5 separate regions of the Homo sapiens genome follow, and all the other regions are linked to region 1. Evidence: promoter capture Hi-C in 16 types of primary human blood cells and fetal thymus (Javierre and others, 2016). All regions are on one chromosome and are shown on one strand. Each heading gives the region's core, a stretch centred on a gene start or on the middle of the fragment in contact. The rest is flanking DNA. Distances are from core to core; before and after follow the strand shown. Region 1 holds the start of SMCP (sperm mitochondria associated cysteine rich protein). Region 2 overlaps PGLYRP3 (peptidoglycan recognition protein 3). Region 3 has its middle 11 kb from the start of LORICRIN. Region 4 overlaps LOC101928009 (a long non-coding RNA gene). Region 5 holds the start of SPRR2G (small proline rich protein 2G).

Region 1 (2,679 bases), core at 48-2,547:
TATATCCTCCACTTTCAGAACCCTGGCTCCTGTCCAACAAACCTGCCTCCTGGACCCCTCTGCCTCCTGCAAGAGTTTCTTCTTAAGATTCTCTCCTTGGCCGGGCACAATGGCTCACACCTGTTGTCCCAGCGCTTTGGGAGGCTGGGACGGGTGAATCACTTGAGGTCAGGAGTTTGAGACCAGCCTGGCCAACATGGCAAAACTCCATCTCTACTGAAAATACAAAAATTAGCTGGGTGTGGTGGCGTGCACCTGTAATACCAGCTACTTGGGAAGCTGAGGCAGGAGAATCACTTGAATCCGGGAGGTAGAAGTTACAGTGAGCCGAGACCTCACCACTGCACTCCAGCCTGGGTGACAGAGTGAGACTCCATCTCAATAAATAAATAAAAAGAAACAAACAAATAAATAAATATTCTCTCCAAGCTCCATTTCCCTTCCTTCCCAACCATGCTGTGCACAGCCTGCCTCAGGAAATCTGCCTAATCATGTCAAACACTTGTGGTGCAAGGCCAGGGCCATCTTCCTAGCTCTTATTGCTCTATTCAGAGAGGATTGATACAGAGCCCAAACCACCAGGAGGGCTCTGGCAAGGCACCTTCTCCCTCTGCCCACAGGCCCAGCCTCATGTCCAAACACTGTTCCCTCAGGCACCAGACTGGCTCAGAGCAGACACCTGCTGAATTTTCTCACCTCTTTCCAGGTCTTTGAATGTGCTCTTTCCCAGCTTAAACCACCCTTCCTGGGTCTCTGTCCCCACATGCTCACTGAATATCGTTCAAACCTGAAGTCTCTGCTTACACATCACTCCTCGAGGAAAACTTCCTTAACCCAAAACCTCCATCTCCCTGAAAGGCTTTCTTGGATCCCCTGTACTTCCCATTACATTTTTATAGTGGTTATTATTTTCCCAATTGTCTCACTTTTGTGGTCTGTTAGTTCCATAAACACAGGCATTCTCACTATCCCCACCCCCAGTGGCTCCCATGTCTTCCTCTTAAATAGAAGCAGGAGCTTTTTCCTGAAAGATAGGATGAATCCTGGAATCCTCTCATCCAACACACTGAATGGCATTGCATGGGTCTCAGTAGGTAAATACGTAATGAACTAATGAACACATGAAAAAGCCATGGAGAGAGGACCCAAAAGACAATGTTTCTCTGTGTTACCTGGTCTGGCCACACACACAATTCACAATTTCCATGCTTGACTTCTCATGACTGATTCCAGTAGGTATTATTGATCTTCCTCAGCAGCCTAGTGAGTCCATGACTATCAGAAGCCAAAGCCTTCTGAACCAGATGGGTTCCCTTCCCTGCTAATGCCAAGATTCTAAGCCTCTATGACACCATAATTCTCTCCACAAGACTCTATGCCTAGCTCACTCACTGGCGCCCCCTGCCTGCTGGAGAGTCTGTCTCTTTGGTTTCTTTCCTGAAAGATAAAAAGAAAGCTCCCTAGCTAACCCATAAGCATGCAATAACCTAAAACACAAATCTGTATTGATTGTCTCCTATCTACCAGGCTCTGTCCTAAAAAGTGAAGTGTAGCTCAATGGGATGTAGTTCCCATTCTCAAAGATCTAATTCAATATGGAGGCAAGTCAATAGCCAACAATACCATGTGATAATAATGATGGTAGGATAAGCACAGGGGTCAGGTTTGGGGGTCAGATATGCTTCCTGGAGGGAGTGATATTTAAGCTGAGACTTGGAAATTGGAAATAGGAAGTTGGACATAGGGGTGTGTCTGGGAGGACATTTTCAGATCCAGAAATGTGAAAGTATAGGCTATTTGGTGGAAAAGCTCAGTGTGGCTGGAGCAGAGTGGGGAGTAAGGAGAAGGGGGAGATTCACCTACCTAGGTAGGTAAGGCTGTGTTGGTGAGGACCTTTATGCCATAAGAAAAAGAGTTTGGACTTTATCCTGAGGACAATGGGAACCACTGAAAGGTTTTAAACAGGGGAGAAACTGGGATGCCTTAGGGGCCAGGACCCTATTTTATTCACTTTGATATTCCCAGTGTCTGGCTGAGCAATTGGCACATAAAAGATTCTGAAACTGAATCAATTGAATAGTGAATTGACTAAAATAATGATAAGAGAGAAGCATTTCATTATGTTTACTCTTTCCTTTTCTTCCTGTAGCATGGCCTCTTTGAGGACAGTGACTAGGAAATTCTGTTCTTCTGGGAAGCATGCCTGCCATAAACATTTGTAGGACACCAGGCAAGAGCACAAACAGAGGCTTCTGACCCCTGTGGTTCACCCCTGGTTCTCTTCCTACTCCCTGGCTTCATCTTGTGTCACGAGGGACCTCGGGCGTGCATGAGTGTAAATATCCTAGTCCATACCGTCCATGTTCTTTTCATACATGGATCTCTCAAACTGCCCCTCTCTTGGTCATTGAGACCTAGAAGTGAGCACAGTATTGGCTGTTTGAGTCTTCAAGAGGATAGACACATAAAGGTGATCTCAGGGCCAGTTGACAGAGATTTCTGGGGTCCTGGATAGCTGGAGTGAGAGAGACAGCAGCTCTGGGCCTGTACCCTGGACCTATTGAATCATCCTATGGGGGTGGGTCATGGCTGGAGGAGAGCCAGAGAAGGACTCTTTAAAGTCTGAAGTCCAGGACAGAACCACCTCGGCCAAAGGGTAGCACTCTTGGGAAGTATGTG
Region 2 (2,679 bases), core at 64-2,563, 420 kb before region 1:
AGTTTTTTAATCAATAGTTATTGGATAGCTACTATATGCCTGGTGCTAGACGAGATATATCAATCTAACAACAAACAGAGAGAGATTCTCCAAAGATGATTAATTTGGCCAGGCACGGTGGCTCATGCCTATAATCTCAGCATTTTAGGAGGCCGAGGCGGAAGGATTGCTTGAGGTCAGGAGTTTGAGATCAGCCTGGGCAACATAGGGAGACCCCATCTCTTCAAAAAAATAAAATAATTAGCTGGGTGTGGTGACATGTATACCTGTAGTCAGTCCCAACTACTTGGAAGGCTGAAACGGAGGATCGCTTGAGCCTAGTAGTTTGAGGCTGCAGTGAGTCATGGTTGTGCCACTGCCCTTCAGCCTGAGCAACAGAGTGAGACCCTGTCTGAAAAAGACAAAAACAAAAGCAAGAGAATAAAGATAAGTATTTTATTTGAGAGTGTAAAGGGAATTTGCAAATCTGGGATATGCATGCTACAGGAACCACAGGCATATCCAAAGAGGTTCAGGCTAGGGGAAGCTTTTAAAGGCAAAAGGCAAAAGTTTGTTTTGAAATAAAGGGAACACTGGAGAACATTGGAACTTATCGCGGGAGGTGACACCAGTTCATTAGTGGAGACAGTGTGCTGGGCAAGTGTTCTTCATCAGCCAGATGTCCTTGTGACTAGTAACAAGCTGCAGTTTTGAAAGTTTTTGGCAAAAGTTCTTGTTACAGGCTTGTGTGCGTAAGAGTCCTTCAGAGAGTCTTTGTGCTAGTTCTTATTGTAGGCTTGTGTGCATGAGGGTCCACCCTTTTCAACCTCCTGGCTTTATTTATTTTTGTTAGAGTTTGACACAAGTGACTCCATTTTGATTCTGACAACTTTCACTGATAGATATGAGAGAAGGAGGGCTAACAAGTAACTACAAGTCAAAGTGTTTGAGCACTGTGATGGATGCAGAACAGGATAATGTATATGATGAGTCTCTAATCAAGGCTTTGTGGGGGGTGATTGGGGTCTGAGAATGGCTTCTAGAGGGAGGAGTATCCTCATTGGGACATGGATAAGCAGTGGGGTTTATTCAGGCAAAGAAGGAGGAAGAGTGTCTGGGTGAGGAGGAACAGTATTTGCCAGGGCCCGGGGTTCAGACAGAGCATTACAAATAGATTTGAAAGAGAGGAGTGGTGAGTAGTAAGGGTGGGAAAGCCTGGGAGGGGCCACATCACGGAGGGCCTCATAGCAGACTCAGAGAGACTGACTCAATTTGAAAGGCAGCTGCAGACTATTTGGGAGGTCATGCTCTATGATAGGATTTGTATTTTAGAAAAATCACTCTGGGTGCTACTTTAAGAATGGGTTGGAAGGAGGCAAAACTCTGGGCAGGAAGCTATTGCAGTGATCCAGTGACTTGCAGTGGGATCGTGGCAGTTGGTCTAGAAAGAAGTGGAGGAATTTAGAAGCTGTGTAGGAGATACAATTGACAAGCCATGATTGGTGACCAGGTGGGCTGAGTGAGGGGGTAGAAGGCATTCAGGGTGTTGTCCAATTTTCTAGCTGGATAAATTTTAGAAGAAGGTGGGTTTGCTTGGACTGTTTTTACAGGTAGTACTTGAAGCTGTGGCAATGATTGTCCAGGGTGAATACGTTGAGTGAGAGAATGGCCTAGACTAGAGTGCGGAGGAGCACCATGTTTGAGGAAGGTAAGGTGGGGTGGGAGAGGGGCCTGAGGGAGCAGCAGGAGGAGGAGAACAAGGAGGGTTGTGGTTGTGGAAGCCCGGGGAAGGGAACATTTTAAGAGAGTGGTCAACAGGGTCAGTGTAGTCTAGAAGTAAAGTAAGTGTCCATTGTACTTAGTGCCAGGAAGCCACTGCTCACCTTGGAGGGGTCAGATTTAGTGGTGTGATGGGAACAAAGGCCAGGTTGAAGTGGACTGTGGTATTTTTTTGTTTTGTTTTGTTTTCTGTCCTTGTCCACATTGGCACATAAGAGATCTCCAGTCAATATTGGATGAATGGATGAAAGAATGAATGAGTGGTTGAAGGAGTGAATGAAGTATTTAAATTCTGTTTCCCAGAGTGACTGTCTTCATTTTCTTTTCCTGACCTAAGCTTCCTGGTGGGCCAGGATGGTGGCGTGTATGAAGGGGTTGGATGGCACATCCAAGGCTCTCACACTTATGGATTCAACGATATTGCCCTAGGAATTGCCTTCATCGGCTACTTTGTAGGTAAGGGGTGAGCATGGGGTAGAGGGGTGCTGGGGGTTGAAGGACCATGCAGCATGTCTGGGAAGCATGGCGGGAAAGGCAGCCCTGTAGTGCCTGGCAGTGTGAATGGAACATTTTAGCTTTAAAGTGGACTCTTAATACAGGATGTCACCAGGATCCCCTTTCAGACAGAGCATTTACCCCCAAATCCACCCATCCCCATGCCCAGCTCCACCTTGCTTTATATCCAAGGCAAACATGGAGCAAGGGGGGAAACGTCTTTTGCAAACTTCAGTGCTTTTATCGCTCAGTTGGCAAATGTGTCCCCTTTCTTGTTAGCCATGGCAACAATTTGGGGAGCACCACTGCCTGTTATGGAAAACCAGTGGGCGGCCCAGTGGTGCTGTATCTGCTTTATACCTGCTCAGAAGTGGTGTGTTGTGCTGCAGTTCTCCTCCAGAACAGTTTTTTATATTTATTTATTTA
Region 3 (2,679 bases), core at 135-2,634, 370 kb before region 1:
CACAATGAATGCTGGTAGAATGAATGGATGAATGAATGCACTCTTTCACATCTTCCCACATCTAGAATTGTTACTGACCTGGGTATTAGATGTTTTGGCCTGGGTGGGGACAATATTAAGTCTTTGCCCTATTTTCACCTCCCCAACAAGATTGTTTGCTCCTGGAAGGCAGGGATGGCATTGCAGCTCTTAGTAAACCTGGAGTCCGTGGATACACCAGGCAGTGAGTCAGTGTTTGTTTAAAGAAAAAGAAGGAAAGAAAGAATGATGCAGAGAATAGAAAGAGGGAGACAGAAAAGGGAGGTAGGGAGGACAGAGGAGTTGTTTCAAGATTTGTAACAGTGCTGGTTTGAGTCTAGTCAGAATAATATCTCTCCCTACCCCACTCTGGGCTCTGTGATCAAATTCTGGCAACTCCAAGAAATTATAAGGCCTGTTTGGCTCCAAAAGGGAGAGATAATAGAGATTATAGCATACTAGAAGTTTTAAAGTGGATGTCAGCACAGGTTTTTGGATTATTGGTATTATTGCATTATCAACATGACTGTGATGTTGATGCATGATTAAATTATTCATGGTGTATAATTGCTCTCAGTGATTAATTAGGACATTTTACTCCACATAATCCCTGCTGGATCCTATATGGATTGCAGAAGAGTTACGTAAAGCGAAGTGTGCTTTCTGCTAGTGAGTTAAAAAGCCTCCTTATTCTGATAGCTATACATTAAAATAGAAAATATATTTCTTTTAATGTGTACACAGTAAGCACTTCAGATTTATTTTATGGGTATCATTGCTTAGGATGAGGTAAAAGAAGGTAACACCGTGGTAGTATATCTTCAAAAATAAATCTGGTTAAGTAAAAATTGTGAGTTCATCCAGAGAAAAGTGTTGAATAAATAATCATACAAGTGGTTCATGAATATGGGAAAAACTACCAAGGAGGTATGTGAATTACTGAGGTTTAGGAAACACTAGGTTAAAAGCACGGGTCCTGCTTCTTCCCTTTGGAGAGTTCCACATGTCCTCCTGGAAAATGAACACTTGTGGTGCAGGAGTTCTGCCCCCACATTCACCTAAGGGTAGGGGGAGGGTTCGCAAGTGTGAGAGTGGGTCTGTCTCCCTGCTGAAACACAGCGTTGGAACTGTGGGCCACTCTAGACTCAGGAGCTGGCCCAGAGCATTGTCTTTGGACGCAGCCAGAGGCACCCTGTGAAGCAGGCAGTGTGTCCTTGGAGCCCCTCATCCTAGGGGTTAATATCCTCCCCACCCAGGCCAAAGCGTCTAATATCTAGGTCAGTAACAATTCCAGAAGTAGGCAGATGTGGAAGAGTTTATTTGTTCATCCATTCATTCTACCAGCATTTGCTGTGGGCTGGGCTAGGCATTGCACTGGCTGCTTGAGATGCAAGCAGCTGAGACATCTCAGCTCTCCCAGGCTGAGATCTCAGAGGAACCCAGAAAATTAAAGACCCTGAGAAACTGAAATTCAAGCTGATTTATTTAGCTTTCATGATAGAAGGGGGAGGCTGTTGTGACTTCCTTCAGCAGGGGATGCCTGAGCCTCTGTCATTCTGCTACTAGCTCATTATTGAAATTGTTCCTGGGTCTTGGTGAGACTTTGGTGACTGAATTGATGTCAGAGGATCTGAGGCGGAATCTTGGTTATATCATTTGCCAGCTGTGACACTGCAAGTGTGCCGCTTAGCCTTTCTGATCCTATATCTTCATGTGTAAAATATCTTTGATTTGCCTATGTTTTGAGGATGCTGTGCAGATTAAACAAGATCTATTATATGGGAAAGCCATTGGAAAACAGTCAGTATTTGATTAAACACTGCTAGTTGAACTCAAGGAAAGATTGTACAATTCATTTAAATTAGAGTGTGGGCATCTGATTTAAAGTGGGTCTTCTCTATTCAGGGAGTGATAGGTTAAAAGAGTCAGAATTATAATGGAAAGGATGAAGCTCAGTGATAAAGTGTCAGGTGTCAATGAGGGAGAAGGGGTGGGGAGTGCATAGAGGAACTATTTCAGGGGCAGATTTTCTCTCGTGGGTTTGCCTTCATGGTTGATATTGGATTGGGGGGTCTGGCTAGCTTTGCCCCTTTTGTTCAGTTCTCTCCCAAGTTCTTCTCTGAGTCAGTCACTCGGTACTTAATACTATTACTAGCAGTGATAACTACCATTTATTGAGCACATCCTATGTTCCAGGTGCTATGTTGGGTGTTTCTCCATGTTGGAACCTCACCACATTCTGTAGCACTGTTATCCACATATCATAGATAACAAAAGTGAGGTGTGAGGAGCACAAATAACCTGCCAAGGTCACACGGTCAAAAGCAACTGAGCCAGGACTACAGTTGGATTTGTCTGACTCCAAAGCCCATGTTTTCCACAATCCTGCTGTCCGGTGTGATACAATTCTGTGTCAACATCAGCATCAGCAAATATTTTCTGAGAGCTGTCTAGTTGTCACACATTGCTCTAGACAGAGACAAAACAGACAAAAAATTCCCTGCCTTTGTGGAACACACATTCTAGCTCAATGGGACAAGGACTAGGTTTCGTGCAATGTTGGGCAGCTCAGTTTCCTCAGCTATACAGTGAGTGGACTGGGCTAGCTGATCTCCATGTTTCTTCTAGCTTTGATAGGACTGTAACCTTCATGAGGAAAGG
Region 4 (2,679 bases), core at 69-2,568, 300 kb before region 1:
CAAACAAAATTCTAAACTCTGGGAGAATGTCTTCAGATCTTGTCAATAGGAAAGATTCCTTAATCAGGTAATAAAAAGCATACCAATAAGGTGGAAAAATGACAAATTGGATTTCATTAAAATTAAAAATTTCTGATTATCAAAAACACCACCAAGATTGCAAAATGCCAAGCCACAGAGATGGAGAAGCTGTATGTAATATCTATATTTAACAAAGGGCTTGTTCCCAGAACATATATACACATGTGTTCCTACTCACAGATCAACAAAAAAACAAGAAATGAGCAAATAGAAAAATATCTGAACAACCTGAACAGGCAATTCATGAAAGGGCATTTCTGTATTTCCAATAAACATATAATAAAGAGTTTAATCTCACCATTCATAAGAGAAATGCAAATTCAAGTCACAACGTGTTATCTCCACATAGCCACCGAAATGGCTAACACGAAAAAAGATAGACAATACCAAGTTTAGACAGAGTGTGGAGCAATTGAAACTTTCACACACTGCTGATGGGAATAATAGATGGTAGAAAGAATTTGGAAAAGTTAACAGTATTCACTAGAGCTGAGCATATCCCTATCCTCTGACCCAGTCATTATATTTTCCTAGGTATGTACCTAACAGAAGTGTGTACATATAGTCACAAAAGGACAAATACGTAAATATTCACATTAGCACTATTTTTAAAAATTCCAAATTGGAAACTACTAAAATACCTTTTAGCAATAAAATGGATGCATAAATGGTAGTATATTCTCATAGAGAAATACCATACAGCAATGAGAATCAACGATCTATATCTACAAACCAGAAAATGAATCAGTATCACAAACACAATTTTGGGGAAAAAAAATCCAGGCACCAAAGAGTTCATACTGTATGATTCCCTTTATATACAGTTCAGAACATGAAGAACAAATGTACAGTGTTAGATGCCAGGAAAAAGTTAATGTTTGGGGGCTGGTAGTGACTCGGACTGCTTTTGAGAACCTGCTTCCCAGGTGGACTGCTTCTGAGATGCTGGTAACATGTTATTTCTTCATTTGTGCATTGGTTGCATGGTTGTTTAGCTTATGAAGCTTTATTAAGTTGTATACCTGTACTTGGTGAGCTTTTATTAATTTATACTTCAATTTTAGTCAGTTAAAAGGTTACTTTAAAGGGAAGGAAGCCACCAGAATGCCAATATTCCTGCAACTTAGTGAACAAGGAAAGAAAGATATGATGAAGTCAGCATAAGAGTCAGTGCCACAGCATGAAGTGCTTTGTAGGACAGTAAGGTCTTCAGACTTTTCTCTAGATACAATGGCAAGATATTTGATCATTTCAATTAGGGAGGACATAATCTTCTCTATATTTTATATGATTGCTGTGGTTGTTCTGATATGGGATTGCTGTGGCACAAGATAGGAATACGGAGACAAGATAGAAATCAGGACACAAGATAGGAAACTTCTGCAGTGGTTCAGGTGAGGGTGATGGTGGCTCTAATTAGGGTAAGAACATTGAAGATAATGAGAAGATGAGAAGTGATAATAAGCTTAAGGCAGAACTTGGGATCTAGGAAGAAGTAGTATGTGGGAGGTGAGGAAAAGAGGAATAAGAGATGAATCCTAGGTCTTAAAAATTATTATTATGACTACTATCATTATTTCAAACATTATTATCCTTATTTAGTTTGTGGCATGAGTACCTTCACACACACGATGATATTGTATATTTAAAAATGAAACCATTTCACAAATGATAGGCGTGACATTGTTATATTTAAAATGAGTGGATATTATAAACAACTTCATATTGAATTCTACAACTTAGATGAAAAGCACAAATTCCTTGAAAATAAAAAACTAACACATAAATGAAAACTTGACAGCCCTGTGATGGTCTTTTGACGTGTCAGCTTGGCTGCATGACAGTCCCTAGTTACTCAATCAAATACTAATCTAGGTGTTGCTGTGAAGGTAGATGTGATTAAAGTCCATTATGAATTGACTCTAAGTAAGGGAGAAAATCCTAGTTTATACAGGCTGGTCTGATTCAATCAGTTGAAAGGCTTTAAAAGCCAAGCTAAATCTTCCCTGAAGAAATTATATGTGTGGATTACAGCTTCAGCCTATGACAGAGTTCCAGCTTACCCTCTTGATGTCCTGACTTCTGGATTTTAGACTTGCCTAGCTGCCTTTGCAATCACATAAATTGAGTCCTTGTAGTAAATCTCTGAAGTACATTTCCAACTGGTTCTGTTCCTCTCATTGTACCCTGACTGAGACAATCTCTAAAATTATTACAGAAATAAAACCCATAGTTTAAAACCTTCCCATATAGAATGCCCCAGGTCCAAAAGGATTAACTGGTGAATTATACCACACACTTAAGAAATAAAAATTTCAATCATACATAATTTCTTTCATAAAACAGAGAAAGAGGGAATATTCACCAAGTCTTTTTCAGGTTAACGTAGCCCTGATATTGAAACTTGACAAGGACATTAAATGAAAAGAAAGTTACAGATCGTTATTCCTCAGGAGCATAGAAGCAAAAATCCTTAAGAAAATATCAGTAAATTGAGTCTAGCAATATATTAAGAGGATTTGTCACAGAATGCAAGGTTTATTTAATATTATAAATGTAATTCACCAAATTAACTGAATAAAGGAAGAAATTATATCA
Region 5 (2,679 bases), core at 132-2,631, 270 kb before region 1:
ATCTTCACTAGATAGGCCTCACTCTAAACAATGCCATTCTTTATTATCTGTTTTTGACATGTTTGAAATTATTGGTTAGTTATGATTAGTTATTATTCTTATTTCTTCTACATTTTAGAGTTTATATTTCTTAGAAGACCCACTATGTAATGTGCATAATTTTAGGCCACTCTTTGAGTTTTTGTAGGAGACTTTTGTGGTAGGTGTATTTTTTATTTCTGTTTTACAGCTGTGTAAACTGTGTTTCAAGGAGGTTAGGAAATATTTAGTTCCACACAGTAGTGGTGGCTGTAGATGTATGCATAACCAAGGTACTCAAGTTTTTTCCAAGTTGGGACAGTGAGTAATACTAGCTGAAGTGTTAATATGGTTAAATAAGCTATACTAAGAAATTATCCGTGGGATCTGTGCCAGCTATACTTTACTTATTTAGGTAAAAACATCCATGAAGTAAACAGCAGGATAAATAGCTTTACAGAACTTCACTCCTCGAATGTGCAAAGAAAGCCTGAAATCCTACTAAATGTCATTTCAAAAGAGAGAAATTGTGAAGGAGTAAATTGAATTAGCATGTAGGAGAAAAGCTTCAAAATGGATGCAGCACATACATTAAGGCAGTTTGGAAGAAAATGGGAGAAGATGAGTTTGGATTTCTAGTAGACCACAAGTCACTCATAGTTACAAGGGCCACAGAGATGAGGTTAGTGTGTAAATCTGCAAATGTGAAGCTTTAAGAAGGGGCCCCAACATGACTCTAATGGCCTAGAAAACTGAGAGATGATGTTGCCTTGTTCAAGCCCATTAATACCATGTCAGAACACACCCAGGTTGGGGCTGTCAGCATCTAGGAAGCTGATATATGATTTTGTCACCCTGTTCAAGTCAATTAATTGTCAAGAAAAGCCTAAGGATCAATAGGCCATGATAAAAGGGGAAGTTAGTTGTAAAGAAAAACTGCAGTTGAGGGTTAGGATATAGCCAGGCTGCAGGATCAGCACATACTGGTCTCTACTAAAGAGAACACAGCTAGATACTGGGCATGTGCAACTGAATGGGAGTAGTTTTACATACAGGATACTTTGGAAGCTGGGAAGTAGGAGAAGCACCATCTCTAATTATAGGGAAGCACCACAATTGTCAGACAATTTGTCACGTTCTACAATTGCCACTGGCATGAGGAACCTGAGATAATGTCCCAAGTGAATCACTGTGCACTTATCCTGCTGGGGAGGATCATGGACTAGGAATTTTGTGATACCAGCATGGATTACATGCAAGTGGTATTTTGGTTGGGAAATAAGCACATCATGCTAGTCCTGGGCTGTTCCCTGTGTAGGGCTGCCTGCCCCTTATAAAAGGACTCTCCACCACACTGATGCTATCTTCTTGCCATTCAGTTGTAGATCTTTGAAGACTCTGGTGAGTACAAATATTAGAAGCTTTTCTTGCACTTGGATGGTGTTAGGGTCTAACCTGGGTACAGAAATGCCTGTTTATTTTAACCAATTTATCCTCATGGATAGGAAAAAGAAGATAATGAGGTCTTGAAGGTAAATTTTAGCTGGTATTTGGTAGATAAACATGAAGGTGATGAGGAACCTGGAGTCAAATATATAAAATCTTAAACTGAAGGAGAGTGAGAGACACAAGATGCTGTTCTGTCTCCTGCTTCACATCTGTTCCAAATACATCTCTCTTGGAGTGCAATCTCCTTGGGTGATGGGTGCAAGTTTTTGCAATTCTCTTAAAAAACTCATGGCTCAGCACCACAGCCAGCTCATTAAAACTGGTAACTAGGGCCTCATGGAAGATAAGAGCACAGATTTGTTTGGTATTGGCTAGACTTTTAATATCTGAGTTTTTCTTCTTCAGATAGTGTTTGTATTCAGACAACATTTGTTGCTGTCTCATAGGCAATTTTATTTTCAGAAAATGGTAGAATGAGAGAACAGCCAGAAAGACGGAAGAACTGAGGGTAAGAGGTCCTAAAAGTGAAGTGTGAAGAAGGTTCACAAAGTCATAAAGACTGTATTAGGGATCAAAGTTGGTCCCTAGATACTGGAGATTTGATGTCCTAGCTAATTGCTCCACCAACAGGACTGTCTCTCTTATGAGCACTGTTTCGTATGTATCTTTCAGATTCTCTGAGACTGAGGAGAGATGTCTTACCAGCAGCAGCAGTGCAAGCAGCCCTGCCAGCCACCTCCTGTGTGCCCCACGCCAAAGTGCCCAGAGCCATGTCCACCCCCGAAGTGCCCTGAGCCTTACCTGCCTCCTCCTTGTCCACCTGAGCATTGCCCACCTCCACCATGCCAGGATAAATGCCCTCCTGTGCAACCATACCCACCCTGCCAGCAGAAGTATCCACCCAAGAGCAAGTAACATCACTAGAATTCATCAGGACCATGAAACAACAAGATCCAGTGGCTCTTCTTACTCCCAGGACTCCATCATCTTCCCTTCAGCTGTAGTGGGAGGCTGCATCTTCCCTAACCTCTGTCTGGCTTGAGCGTTGACAGAGAAAAGGCTTAGTTCTGAAAACCGATATGTTGTTGGAAGATGAGCAGCCAGATCACTGCCTAATCTCGCTTTGCTGTCTGTGATGTAGATGGTGGTTCCTATCCTGAGAGCAAGTGTGTTTATTCTTTTGCTTCTCCCCAATAAAGCACATGTTTCATG

The links. Contacts are between HindIII fragments. The CHiCAGO score rates a contact against its expected background, and 5 or more counts as called.
Region 2: a contact is called between a fragment that was not itself captured here and the fragment with the promoter of SMCP in region 1, in 2 of 17 cell types (M0 macrophages and M2 macrophages). The highest score is 6.2, in M0 macrophages.
Region 3: a fragment that was not itself captured here is called in contact with the fragment with the promoter of SMCP in region 1 in 1 of 17 cell types (M2 macrophages); the score reaches 5.3 in M2 macrophages.
Region 4: a contact is called between a fragment that was not itself captured here and the fragment with the promoter of SMCP in region 1, in 3 of 17 cell types (endothelial precursors, M2 macrophages and erythroblasts). The highest score is 7.2, in endothelial precursors.
Region 5: the fragment with the promoter of SPRR2G here is called in contact with the fragment with the promoter of SMCP in region 1 in 6 of 17 cell types (M2 macrophages, M1 macrophages, endothelial precursors and 3 more); the score reaches 8.1 in M2 macrophages.

What each region holds. Positions count from the first base shown.
Region 1 is chr1:152,876,940-152,879,618 of GRCh38, reverse strand. It overlaps SMCP (sperm mitochondria associated cysteine rich protein), which reads right to left and starts at 1,297. Exons shown (of 2, transcript NM_030663.3): 1 at 1,173-1,297. The HindIII fragment of the contact is 18,030 bases long and covers 1-2,679 here.
Region 2 is chr1:153,298,648-153,301,326 of GRCh38, reverse strand. It overlaps PGLYRP3 (peptidoglycan recognition protein 3), which reads left to right. Exons shown (of 8, transcript NM_052891.3): 7 at 2,096-2,214. Among named protein-coding and RNA genes, the nearest start is that of PGLYRP3, 13 kb to the left of the region's middle. The HindIII fragment of the contact is 1,569 bases long and covers 529-2,097 here.
Region 3 is chr1:153,247,149-153,249,827 of GRCh38, reverse strand. No RefSeq gene overlaps it. Among named protein-coding and RNA genes, the nearest start is that of LORICRIN, 11 kb to the left of the region's middle. The HindIII fragment of the contact is 3,114 bases long and covers 1-2,679 here.
Region 4 is chr1:153,178,566-153,181,244 of GRCh38, reverse strand. The region is part of intron 2 of LOC101928009 (a long non-coding RNA gene); the gene reads right to left. It also overlaps a transcript of SPRR2G not described here. Among named protein-coding and RNA genes, the nearest start is that of LELP1, 24 kb to the left of the region's middle. The HindIII fragment of the contact is 461 bases long and covers 1,088-1,548 here.
Region 5 is chr1:153,149,592-153,152,270 of GRCh38, reverse strand. SPRR2G (small proline rich protein 2G) reads left to right here and starts at 1,381. Exons shown (of 2, transcript NM_001014291.4): 1 at 1,381-1,419; 2 at 2,140-2,679. The coding sequence starts at 2,161. The coding sequence ends at 2,382. The HindIII fragment of the contact is 711 bases long and covers 731-1,441 here.